Linked DNA regions of Homo sapiens: region 2 is linked to region 1. The links are contacts of gene promoters, found by promoter capture Hi-C in blood cells and fetal thymus (Javierre and others, 2016). All regions are on one chromosome and are shown on one strand. The core of a region is centred on a gene start or on the middle of the fragment in contact, and the rest is flanking DNA. Distances in the headings are between cores, read along the strand shown.

Region 1 (6,292 bases), core at 2,600-5,099:
CATGCCTGGCCTCTCTTCCCATTAGACTGCAAACTCCACAATAGCAGGAACTCCATCTGTTTGGTTCAACAATGTACACTCAGCACCTAGCACAGAACCTGGCACATCGTAAATGCTTAACAAGTATTTGTTGAATGAATGAGAAAATCAAATAGTAAAGCATGCCATTGCGTGGCGCAACACACTTCCACATGGCCTGGAATTTTGTCTGCTGCAAGCTCCAGCGTGCTATGACAGCACCACACTCTGACTGTCATGCAGCCCTTGATGTGGGACTTTCTACAAAACAGTCCATGAGCCCTGGGAAGCCCCAACATATCACAACATGGCCCAACCGGCTACAGTATTAGGCCTGGACAGGGTCTCAGATGCAGTCCCAGGGAGCACTGACCTGAGCTCTGGACATGTCCCACTGACCACAGGGAACCACAAGGAGCCCCAGCCTTGGATGGGGTGCTGTTTGGGCCCTGAGCATCTGAACTCCCAGGCCTCAAGTATCAGGTCCTCGGCTAGGGACCTGAGGTGAGCAGACAACAGGTCTTTGTCTTCCCAGAAAGCCCTGCTCAGCTCACAGAGGAGAATGGCTGATTCCGAGCATTTAGAGCAGTTGTGAAGTTTGTGGGGTGTGGGGAGCTCTGGGACTCCATAGAGAGGAGAGCCCTCTGCTCTGCCGTGTGTTCTTAGGCTTGTCACTGTCCCTTTCTGGCTTCACCTCCCTCTGTAAAAGTAAGAGAATACCAGAGGGCCTCCAGGGAGCATCTGGGTACAGGTTGGTACCAACGCCCAGAGAGGGGCTGCGCTGCCGGGGGTCCGGAGTAAGGGAGGACAAAACCACCACAGGGACCTAGGCTACCTGCCTCTTGAAAAGCCGGAAGGGCTCAGAGGGGGAAGTCTCGCTGGTGTCTCCTCCTCTGCTGCTCTGTCCCAGGCCCTTGGATAAGGCCCCACTTTGCTCAAGAATAAGTCATTGAGTCGGCCAGGCATGGTGGCTCATGCCTGTAATCCCAGCACTTTGGGAGGCTGAGGCGGGCGGATCACAAGGTCAGGAGATCGAGACCATCCTGGCTAACATGGTGAAACCTCATCTCTACTAAAAAAAAAATACAAAAAATTAGCTGGGCCTGGTTGTGGGTGCCTGTAGTCCCAGCTACTCAGGAGGCTGAGGCAGGAGAATGGCTTGAACCCAGGAGGCAGAGCTTGCAGTGAGCTGAGATCACGCCACTGCACTCCAGCCTGGGCGACAGAGCGAGACTCCATCAAAAAAAATAATAATAAGTCAATGAGTCACTAGGAGTCACTAGGAGGCAAAGGGTCAAAGGGTCATGGAAAAGGAAAGTGGGGGTGTCCAGCACCCCCGGCCCTGCCCTTTTCCTCCTCGGCCAAGGAACCCAGTGAGTCACAAAATTCCACTGGGGCGGGCTCTGTGCCAAGCTGAGTGATGGTGGGAGGCTCTGGCTCTGCTCCCATCCCCTGCTCTGAGTCCCTGCCTCTTATGCACAGACAGGCAGGCAGACAAGGACAGGCAGATGGCCACAACTCCCACACAGATACACAGACACCTCTTAGACAGGGAGGCACAGGCAGGACACACACACAGACATACAAGCCAACAAGTGCACAAATGCAGGCAAACAACACACGCTGGCAGACAGACAGATCCATAATGGACACAGAGACAACATCCAGACAGATACACACACACAGATGCACAGGTATGTAGCAGATGGACAGGTAAATGGATAGACAAGCAGACAATCAGTCAGACAAGGACAGGCAGATAGCCAAAATATCCAGACTCACAGATACACAGGCACATAGCAGATAGACAGGTAAACACACTTCGGAAGGCCAAGGCAGGCGGATTGCTTGAGCTCAGGAGTTGGAGACCAGCCTGGGCAACATGGTGAAACCCCATCTCTACTACAAATACAAAAAAAATTCAGGCAGGCATGGCGGTGTGCACCTGTAGTCCCAGTTACTCAGGAAGCTGAGGTGGGAGGATTACTTGAGCCCAGGAGGTCAAGGCTTCAGTGAGTCGAGATCGCGCCACTGTACTCCAGCCTGGGTGACAAAGTGAGACCTTGTCTCAAAAAAAAACAAAAAACAAAAAGCAAAAAAAACCCAGACGATCAGATGTGGACTGACAGACTCAAGCAGAAGCAGAAACACCCCCACAAACACCGCAACTCAGATATACACATGCATACATGCACACAGAGATAACACACCCAGACTCACGAGGGTAGCCTATGCGGTGTGATTTTGGGCAAAAGAGAGGCCAGATGTCTCTAAACAAGCCCCCAGCCCCAGAACCATGAAAAAGTAGGTACCATAAAAGTAGGAACTCTGGACACGAACTCTTTTGAAAGAAAGCAGCTTTCATCTCTTACCCTGAGGATATGACATTTACCAATACCGAGGGGCCCGTCCTGCAGTAAGATGAATGGAGTTTAGATAAGAAAAGAGACTTCCCAACCAGGAGCACGTTGAGACCTGTAGTGGGTGACTAAGGGTGACTAGGGGTAAAGGAGTGGGCTGGTGGCAGGCAGGGAGCCTGTGTTCTGGCTGCACGACCTCAGGCAAGTGCATTCTTCTGAGCCTCAGTTTCCCACCTAGGCTTTGTCCTCCCAGGTCCCTGCAGGGAGCAGATGGGCAGCTCCTGGGTGTGTTAGTGCCAGTGCTGGGGCCCCCGGATATTATCCCTCCACCCCCACCACCAGGGCAGGACCCCCTTGGTGACTCACCACCCAGTGGTCCATGGCAGGGGTAACCCAGCCACAGGTGCCGGTGATCCTCGGCTCTCTCCCTTCCCCCAGGGTCTGGCCAGCTGAGGATGCCCCTTGGTTTGGGGGAGGTTTGCAGGGAGGTCAGTGGGAGGGCAAAGGGAGTCCCTGATGCCTTCCCCGGGGCCACATGTGAGGCTCAGGCCTGGGCCTGGGAGGGTTTGTCCAGGTGTAGTCTCTTTTATCCTCTTTGCTGGTAGAGACCTCTGGCCTGGGCCCAACCTGTTGAAGAGAGGGCGTTGCACAATAGGGAGGTAAAAGGTGACGGCAGACCTGGCGGGACAGAAGCCCCATTGTTTGGGTCCCAGGCCAGCCTGGGCAAAGAAAGGTTTATGCCTGCGGCAGGAAGGAGGGCCTCTGCAGGGGGTGCCAGCTGGTAGGGCCCTTGCCTTTGGACCCTTGGAGGGGGACAGGTGCCAAGCAGGATGCCCTTGGGTTTGCTAGAGAGGGCAGTGCTCGTCTAGGGGCCCAAGCAGGCAAGGGAAGGCAGACTCAACAAGGGATCAAAGGGTGCAGAGGCCACCCCCACACCCTGCCCACCTCCCAGGGATGAGCCGCCCAGGGCACCTAAGGATCATACTCCTGGAATTCCAATCATTCCTAGGAGCTGGGGTGGCTAGGGGGGCGGCACCCAAGCCTAGGGGGCACAGTGGAGAGGGGTGTGCATGGCTATTTTTATTACCGAGGGGTCAGGAGAGGCTTACAGAATTTTGCCTCACATGCCCTCCCCATCATTTCCCAAACTTGTGTCCATAACCCAGAGCTCGGCTGCCCATATCCCCCCTTCTCCACCAGAGCCCCTCAGCTCCACAGGGATGCCCACTGTGAAGTCCTTCCCAGTGTGAAACCGCAATCCTTCCTGCTTGGGGTTCCCCTAAGGGAACGGCTTCCGCCACAGGAGACCCAGCCAGGACAATCGTGTGCTTGTCGTTTCTCCACCCTGCAAGCCCATGAGTTGTGGGGTAGTTACTCCAGGTACAAGCCAGGCGCCCCTCCCTTCCGCCACTGCTGGGGCGGTGCAGAGGGCGGGCGGTACAAAAAGCGCCCCGCCCCGCGCTCCTCTCTTGACTTTGAGCGTCCGGCGGTCGCAGAGCCAGGAGGCGGAGGCGCGCGGGCCAGCCTGGGCCCCAGCCCACACCTTCACCAGGTAGGGACGCTCCCCTGCTCAGAGGGCGGAAGGTGTAGACAGAGAAGAAACAGGGGGAGGGGGCAGGTAGAGGAACCAAGACAGATGGCAGAGAGAGGGACAGTGGAGGGGGACAGAGGGACACAGGAACAGAAGAGAGGTGTACCCAAAAGACCGGGGGAGACAGGAAAGCACAAAGTCAAGGACCCAGGTCAGGGATGGAGGCTGCTGGAGGGCAGAGAGACCTAGGACAGGAGAGAAGACCTTGGGTCCACAGGATGAGTGTTGGGTGGGAGCACCAAGAATGCCACCACCCTCATTTCCTTGTCCTTGAAGGTCCCTGCCTAGGTCAGGGAGGGGCTCCGTTTCTGCCCAGTCCCCATCCCCCTATAGCCAGGGCCCACACACTGGGGCTCCTCTGCCCGTGTCCTGCCTGGGGACTCAGGAATCGGGATCTCCCTCCCTGCTGGGCCCTCTTGAACTCACAGCTCCAGGAAACTGGGAGACTCATCCCTGGTGTTCCAGGGAGTCTCTGCTGCCCACCATCTCTGCCCCCCAGGGCCCAGGAGCCACCATGTGGCGATGTCCACTGGGGCTACTGCTGTTGCTGCCGCTGGCTGGCCACTTGGCTCTGGGTGCCCAGCAGGGTCGTGGGCGCCGGGAGCTAGCACCGGGTCTGCACCTGCGGGGCATCCGGGACGCGGGAGGCCGGTACTGCCAGGAGCAGGACCTGTGCTGCCGCGGCCGTGCCGACGACTGTGCCCTGCCCTACCTGGGCGCCATCTGTTACTGTGACCTCTTCTGCAACCGCACGGTCTCCGACTGCTGCCCTGACTTCTGGGACTTCTGCCTCGGCGTGCCACCCCCTTTTCCCCCGATCCAAGGTGGGCACTAAGATGGCCAGGAGGGTGGGTCACTTTGTCCACCTCAGACTCAGCAAGGCTCAAGAGCAAAGCTGATGGATGCACTGACATTTCCAGGGGAAGCTCTGTAGAATCTGGGACTCTTCCCTGCCCCTCTGGGAACTTTACTCTCCAGCAAGACTGAAGAAGCTCCTTGGTTAGAATTCTAATTTGGCCCAGGGAAAGGGCAACCTCCCACATTTTCTCCCAATCCTGTCTCTTTTCCAGACACGGAAGGTGCTGGCCGCACCTGCTGACTCACTCTTGGGCTGATAAGGCACATATGGGTTGGTGAGGGTCATCTTAGCCATTTTTCTGCCTTTGCTGAGGATTCTAGGATCCTGTGCCCCGAGATGGCTGCTCATACCTGGGAGATGGGTCAAATCTTTTCCTGCTTTCAGCCTCACCATCATCCTTTTCCATGCACTTGCCCCTGTCCAATAGGAGAATCACTTGCGTTCCTTCCCACAGTTCCATGGGGCTTGGGCCGGCAGACTGCATACCTGAGCTGTCATCTCAAGAGTGCTGTGTTATCTTAGGACGGTTGCTTACCTTCTCTGGGCCTTGGCTTCCCCATGCTCCTCCCACTCCCCATCTCCAAGCCCTAACTTATTTAAATGGAAAAGGATCCCAGGAATGTTGTGGCTGGCATCCAAGTAAAGTAAGAGGAATCCAGGTTGGAATCATTGAAGAACTTCCCAAACAGCAGTTGGTGTGTGACCCTGCAGGATTTGTCTTCAGTTATAGTTTAATTTCAGTGAGAGCTGGTGTGTGTGTGTGTGTGTGTGTGTGTGTGTGTGATGTCTTCAGTTATAGCTTAATTTCAGTGAGAGCTGGTGTGTGTGTGTGTGTGTGTGATATCTTCAGTTATAGTTTGGCTTCAATTTCAGTGAGAGCTGGTATGTGTGTGTGTGTGTGTGTGATGCCTTCAGTTATAGTTTAATTTTAGTGACAGCTGGTGTGTGTGTGTGTGTGTGTGTGTGATGTCTTCAGTTATAGTTTAATTTCAGTGAGAGCTGGTATGTGTGTGTGTGTGTGTGATGTCTTCAGTTATAGCTTAATTTCAGTGAGAGCTGGTGTGTGTGTGTGTGTGTGTTGTCTTCAGTATAGCTTAATTTCAGTGAGAGCTGGTGTGTGTGTGTGTGATGTCTTCAGTTATAGTTTAATTTCAGTGAGAGCTGGTGTGTGTGTGTGTGTGTGTGTGTGTGATGTCTTCAGTTATAGCTTAATCTCAGTGAGAGCTGGTGTGTGTGTGTGTGTGTGATGTCTTCAGTTATAGTTTAATTTCAGTGAGAGCTGGTGTGTGTGTGTGTGATGTCTTCAGTTATAGTTTAATTTCAGTGAGAGCTGGTGTGTGTGTGTGTGATGTCTTCAGTTATAGCTTAATCTCAGTGAGAGCTGGTGTGTGTGTGTGTGTGTGTGATATCTTCAGTTATAGTTTGGCTTCAATTTCAGTGAGAGCTGGTATGTGTGTGTGTGTG
Region 2 (6,292 bases), core at 3,326-5,825, 160 kb before region 1:
CACTCGCAGCGTGGAGCTGTCCAGGAGTGGCCTAGGCCCCATACAGTAGTGAGCAGTATGTGTATGTGTGTGTATATATATATCTCCTTCCATTTAATCCTCACAAAGACCCCACTGGGGCAGTTAATATTGTTCCCATTTCACAGATGAGGAAACTGGCTCAGAGAGTGAAGGTGACTTCTCCACAGCCACACAACATTAAGTGGTGTAGTTGGGCACTACTGGACACCAGTACCATCCTGTTGCAGTGAAGAGTTGCTGCACAGGAGTGAAGTTCTATGTGGGGTTTCTGGGCAACTTCAGGAGGGATTTTTTTGCATGCATGGGTCAGTGGGGAAGATTTTTGTATCCTCCCAGGTGTGACTCATCTGCTGATTGTGCTTCTCAGCATTGGAACTGGGCTGAAGGTGAACTGGGCTGAAGGTGGGTCCTGCTTTGGATGGGGAGGTAAGATGGGTCCACAGGGGATGGGGCCACCAGGCAAGCCGCCGGCACATGATGACTTGGCTGTCTGCAAAGATTTCAGGAGGGTCTTGCACATCCTAGGGAGTGTGAAAGGCCTTTGGGTCAGACCACTGGACTCGGATCCTAGCTTTGCCTCTTCGCATCTCTGTGACTGTGGGCAGTCACTTTGCCCATCCCCTTGTCTGTAAAGTGGAGAAAACAATGGTGTCTGCCCCTTAGCCTGTTGTGAGGATTAAATGGGACTGAGGTTAGCACAGCTGCATATTTAGCACCAAGCTGGTGTGCAGTGGCCGGTCCATAAACACCCCACAGTAGTACATGACTCAAGACTACATGCAAGGAAGTGCTGAAGCCAGTGAGACCCAGGGCTGCCTAACTATAGAGCCTGGGCTCGGAGCCCCTGTACTCTCCTACCCCAGGAGATCATTTTACAGATGAGGAAACTGAGTCCCATGGAGGGGAGGAGAGACTTGCCTGAGGTCAGATTACAAGCTGTGGCAGAGCCAGCATTAGGACCTGCATTCTTGGCACTGCATGGGGGAAGTAAGTGCACCTTGGGACATTTCCGGCTGACCTCTTCTCTGCTGTGTTTTGACTAGCCCTGGGGCGGCTCAGCCAGTTACGGAGTTGTTCATGAAGGCGGCAAGGTGCATGCTTGCCTGGGCCAGTTTTGCATTTTTTAAACTGTGACGAAATACATGTTAAAAAATTTACTCTTTTAACCTTTTATTTTAGTCTTCAAGGAGTTTGTATGTTATTTCATTTTATTTTATTTTACTTTATTTTTTTGAGATGAAGTCTTGCTCTGTTGTCCAGACTGGAGTGCAGTGGCACCATTCTGGCTCACTGCAACCTCTGCCTCCAGGTTCAAGTGATTCTCCTGCCTCAGCCTCCCGAGTAGCTGGGATTACAGGCGTGCGCCACCATGCCTGGCTAATTTTTGTGTTTTTAATAGAGACGGGGTTTCACCATGTTGGCCAGGCTGGTCTCGAACTCCTGATCTCAAGTTATCCACTGGCCTCGGCCTCCCAAAGTGCTGGGATTACAGGCATGAGCCACCACACCCAGCCTGTAATTTATTTTAGAAGACATGTATATTAAAATGGAGATCTAATAAATACAACCCTAATAAAAATTAATCCCAAACGAATGGCATTGTCAGAAGGAGTAGTGCCAACTAAGGCACACGGTAACTCCAGAACATCTTCTTACTGTCAGCCCTCATCTGGATTACTGACAACAGCCCCTGACTCTCCTCCCTTCCCCCAAAGATACCACACACTACCCCATGACCTGTCTTTTTGTGATCAAAGTGATATTTCTAAAATGCAAATCTGCTGTCATTCCTCTTCTTTCGCAATCATTCCCCATTGCTTTCAGGGTGAAGTCCAGACTCCCTGGCATGGCATACAGGGACATTGACCACCACTTCCGTGACCTCTGTAGCTTTTCTCACCCTTTCAGCTGCCCTGAAAATACAGTGTCCCTGTAGCTCTGCATGTGTCATTCTCTTTGCTGGGAATACCCTTCTCGCCTCTTCCTGCTCTTCTTTGAAAACTCCCTGCCCCCTCCCTTTTAAAAAAATTGAGGTAAAAGATGCATAACATAAAATGTACCATTTTAACAATTTTTAAGTGTAGCATTAAGTACATTGACACTGTTATGCAACCATCACCACCATCCTTCTCCAGAACTTTTTCATCTTCCCAGACTGAAACTCCCACTAAACAGTAACTCCCCAGCCCCTCGTAACCACCAATTCACTGCTTTTCTCTATGAGTTTGGCTACTCTCTCCATCTAAGTGGAGTCATACAATATTTGTTCTTTGGTGTCTGGCTTATTTCACTTAGCATAATGCCCTGAGGGTTCATCCATGTTATAGCATGTGTCAAAATTTCATTCTTTTTTTTTTTTTTTTTTTTTTGAGACAGAGTCCTGCTCTGTTGCCCAGGCTGGAGTGCAATGGCACAATCTCGGCTCATTGCAACTTCCACCTCCCGGGTTCAAGCAATTCTCTTGCCTCAGCCTCCCGCGTAGCTGGGACTATAGGCACACACCACCATGCCCAGCTAATTTTTTTGTATTTTTAGTAGAGATAGGGTTTCACCATGTTGGCCAGGCTGGTCTCGAACCCCTGACCTCAGGTGATCCGCCCGCCTTGGCCTCCCAAAGTGCAGGGGTTACAGGCATGAGCCTCCGCACCTGGCCTCATTCCTTTTTAAGAACAAATAATATTCTATTGTATGGATATGGATATACCACATTTTGTTTATCCATTCATCTCGTCCACCAATGGACATTTAGCTTGTTTTCACCTTATGACTACTGTGAATAATTCTGCTATGAACATGGGTGTGTAAATATGTGAGTCCCTGCTTCATTTCTTTTGGATATATATCCAGAAGTGGAGGGCCACTTTATTTTATTTTATTTTATTAAATTTTGAGACGAACTCATGCTCTGTCACCCAGGCTGGAGTGTATTGGCGCGATTCAGCTCACTGCAACTTCTGCCTCCCGGGTTCAAGCGAGTCTGCTGCCTCAACCTCCTGAGTAGCTGGAATTACAAATGCCTGCCACCATGCCTGGCTAATTTTTGTATTTTTTGTAGAGACGGGGTTTCACCATGTTGGCAGGATGGTCTCAAACTCCTGATCTCAGGTAATCTGCCTGTGTTGGCTTCTCAAAGTGCTGGGATTACAGGCATGAACCACCACGCCCAGACAGCCAGTTTGTTTTAAATAGAAAAATTCATCCAGCCCTCAGCTGCCTCCCTTACCCACCCAACACCCTATGAGTGGTTCTAAGAACTTCTGTCCCTGGCTCTGAGGACAACCAGGAGACAATGTGAATGACTCAGTGACAGCCTGTTCACATAATGCCAAACGACTCATGGCTCCAGAGCTGTCTGCCTTGCCTTGGGAGGTAGTGAGCTCCTTGTCATTGGCAGTGTGCAAGCAGCAGAGGATGGCCAGATGCTTTCTGGGTGGTTCTTCATTGGAAAGAGAATGGATTGGTTGAATGCCAAGGAACCTTGCAGCTGTAAGGCTCTGAGGCCTGGGGCTTCTTAAATTCTGAGTTCTCCATTCTGAGAACCTGGGCTGGTACTAAGATTCAGCCACTGTAAGTGTTCTGGGGCTTTTCTGTTGCTGCCCTTGAGTGCATCTGCAGGAAGAGGGGAGTGGTTGTAATCGTAGTGTGGGAACAGCTTTCCAGTCTGCCTTCCTTTCACACTGCATCATGAGCATTATTCCATGTGGCTCTGTAGCCAGGGAATTCATCTTTCTGGCTCTGTAGCATTCCATGGAGTGAAAGGGCCACGGCTGTCCCCAGGTGTTAGACATTTAGGTTTTTTGTAGTTTCTTGAGACTCCAATAGGCTCACAAAACCTAAAGCTTATTTAAGTTTTTTCTTTATATAAAAATCTTTATTTTTATATTTGTAAATTTAACTTAATTGAAGTATTATTTGTATACAATGAAATGTACCCAAGTTAAGTGTTACCTACATATTTGCCCCATTCAGCAGAGAAATCCGTTTTATGGAATACCATGATGTATTGATGGGCGTTTTGTTATTTTCAATTTTCCCCTAATGGCCAGGCATGGTGGCTCATGCCTATAATCCCAGCACTTTGGGAGGCCAAGGTGGGAGGATCCCTTGAGCCCAGGAGTTCAAGACCAGCCTGGCCAACATGAGAAAACCCTGTATCTACCAAAAAATACAAAAATTAGCTGGGTGTGGTGGTGCATGCCTGTGGTCCCAGCTACTTGGGAGGCTGAGGTAGGAGGATCGCTTGAGCCCAGGAGGTTGAGGCTTCAGTGAGCTGAGATCACACCACTGCACTCCAGCCTGGGTGACAGAGCCAAATCCTTTCTTGAAACAAAAACCAAGAAACCAAAAAGAAAAATTAGCTGGGCATTGTGGCTGGTGCCTGTGGTCCCAGCTACTCCGGAGGCTGAGGTAGGAGGATTGCTTGAGCCCCGGAGGTGGAGGTTGCAGTGAGCCGAGATGGTACCACTGCACTCTAGCTTGGGTGACAGAACGAGATCCTGTCTCAAAAATTTTTCCCCCTATTATTTTCCTATTATGATCAGTGCCACAATGAATTTCCATGTGTTTGTATATATGTGCACACATCTGCCCTTACTCCAATGGTCTGGCATTTCTGTAGGAAGAGATTTAAATATATATAAAATGACATTTTGGTCAAATGGAAGAGGTTCTTGTAGGAGCCATTCTGGGGTGGGGTGAATGGAGCAAGGTGGACAAACATTTCCAAGGATGCTCTGGAAGCAGTGTGTGTTTTTCTCTTTGACCTGGTCTCTCTGGCTGCTGATCAGGCCCTTGGAAATCCTGAGATTTCAGGCATTAGGAACACCTGGATTTTGATGTTTAAGAACCAGAGCGAACTGAAAGGCCAAGCTCTCTGAAAGCGGAACAGCTTTCTTGTGTCTCAGATGTCTCAAATTGAAATTAAATGGTAACAAGCCAGCATCAGGACCTGACAGGGCACCTGGGCACCTGGCTCCTGAGATCAGTACCCACTGGCCTCCCTTGGTTTTCTGGTATTGGGTTTTTTGTTGTTTGTTTGTTTGTTTTTTCATCACTGGGATGTATTTAAATTAAATAAGATGACCATCAGTGAATTAGCGAGCTGGAACTAGTGTAGTCCTGTAGGCAGAGCCTGGCCCTTGGTGCACACAGATCTGAATTTGCATCCCAGCTCCTCAGCTTACTTGCTGTGTGACCTTGGTCATGCCACTTCTCTGTCTCAGTTTTCCCATTTGAAAATGGAAAGTTACCACACAATTCATAGCATCAGTGAAGCTTAATGTAGATAAAGTGCTTATCACAGTGCCTGGGACTGAGTAACCCTTCGTAAATGGTAGCTGCCACTAATACTACTTGAATCTCAGTGCTGTTATCAACTTGCTGTGTGACCTCTGGTAAGTCTCTTAGTCCCTCTGGTCTCAATTTCCACGTCTGTAAAATGGGACTAATAAGCTGCTCTAACTGATACCCAGAATGTTCTTTATAGCAGGGGTCCCCAACCCCTGGGCCATGGACTAGTATCTATCCATGGCCTGTTAAGAACTGGGCCACACAGCAGGACGTGAACAGCAGGTGAACAAGCATTACCGCCTGAGCTCCGCCTCCTGTCAGATCAGTGGCAGCATTAGATTCTCATAGGAGTGCGAACCCTATTGTGAACTGTGCATGCGAGGGATCCAAGTTGCGTGCTTCTTATGAGAATCTAATTCCTGATGATCAGAGGTGGAACAGTTTCATCCCAAAACCATATCTGCCCCCTGCCAGCACCCCTGCTGCCATCTGTGGAAAAAGTGTCTTCCCTGAAATTGGCTCCTGGTACCAGAAAGGTTTGGGACCACTGCTTTATGGCCTCTAAAACATTTTTCAGGCTTTTCTTATCCTCTCACCCACCAAGGACAGCCATGGATAGGAGGCAGGTCTTGGGGTGGCAGCTGCAAGATGTAACCAGAAGTTGCTGGACAGGTGGACTGTTTCAATTTAGACCATGAGGAATAGTTTCGTTTCCAAAGCATTTTGTTTAGCATCTGTGTGAACGAGAGATAGGCGAGGAGCATTTCTAGTTTGGGGGAGAGTAAGAGGGGAGGCAGATGCCCGCCAGCAGGGTGTGCTGTGTGCCTTGTGACCAGTCCAGAAAGAAAAGCAGAGGTCTCTGAGGAGCAAGGGGCCCCTGCCAGCCTGCTCTTTTCAAAGCTCATCTTTCAATTCCTGACCCTTGGCTCCAGCCCCTCGAGTGGGTGCCCACCGCTCTTAGGATGAAAACCAGTGTCCTGTT

Evidence for each region. The method cuts DNA at HindIII sites, captures the fragments that hold promoters and counts their contacts. A CHiCAGO score of 5 or more calls a contact.
Region 2: a contact is called between a fragment that was not itself captured here and the fragment with the promoter of TINAGL1 in region 1, in 1 of 17 cell types (M1 macrophages). The highest score is 5.4, in M1 macrophages.

What each region holds. Positions count from the first base shown.
Region 1 is chr1:31,572,666-31,578,957 of GRCh38, forward strand. TINAGL1 (tubulointerstitial nephritis antigen like 1) reads left to right here and starts at 3,850. Exons shown (of 12, transcript NM_022164.3): 1 at 3,850-3,930; 2 at 4,469-4,793. The coding sequence starts at 4,484. It overlaps LOC105378626 (a long non-coding RNA gene), which reads right to left and starts at 5,232. Exons shown (of 6, transcript NR_188671.1): 1 at 5,179-5,232; 2 at 2,745-3,005. RefSeq lists an enhancer at 3,661-4,381. The HindIII fragment of the contact is 15,245 bases long and covers 1-6,292 here.
Region 2 is chr1:31,415,485-31,421,776 of GRCh38, forward strand. All of the region lies in intron 1 of SERINC2 (serine incorporator 2), which reads left to right. Among named protein-coding and RNA genes, the nearest start is that of SERINC2, 5.4 kb to the left of the region's middle. The HindIII fragment of the contact is 1,435 bases long and covers 3,859-5,293 here.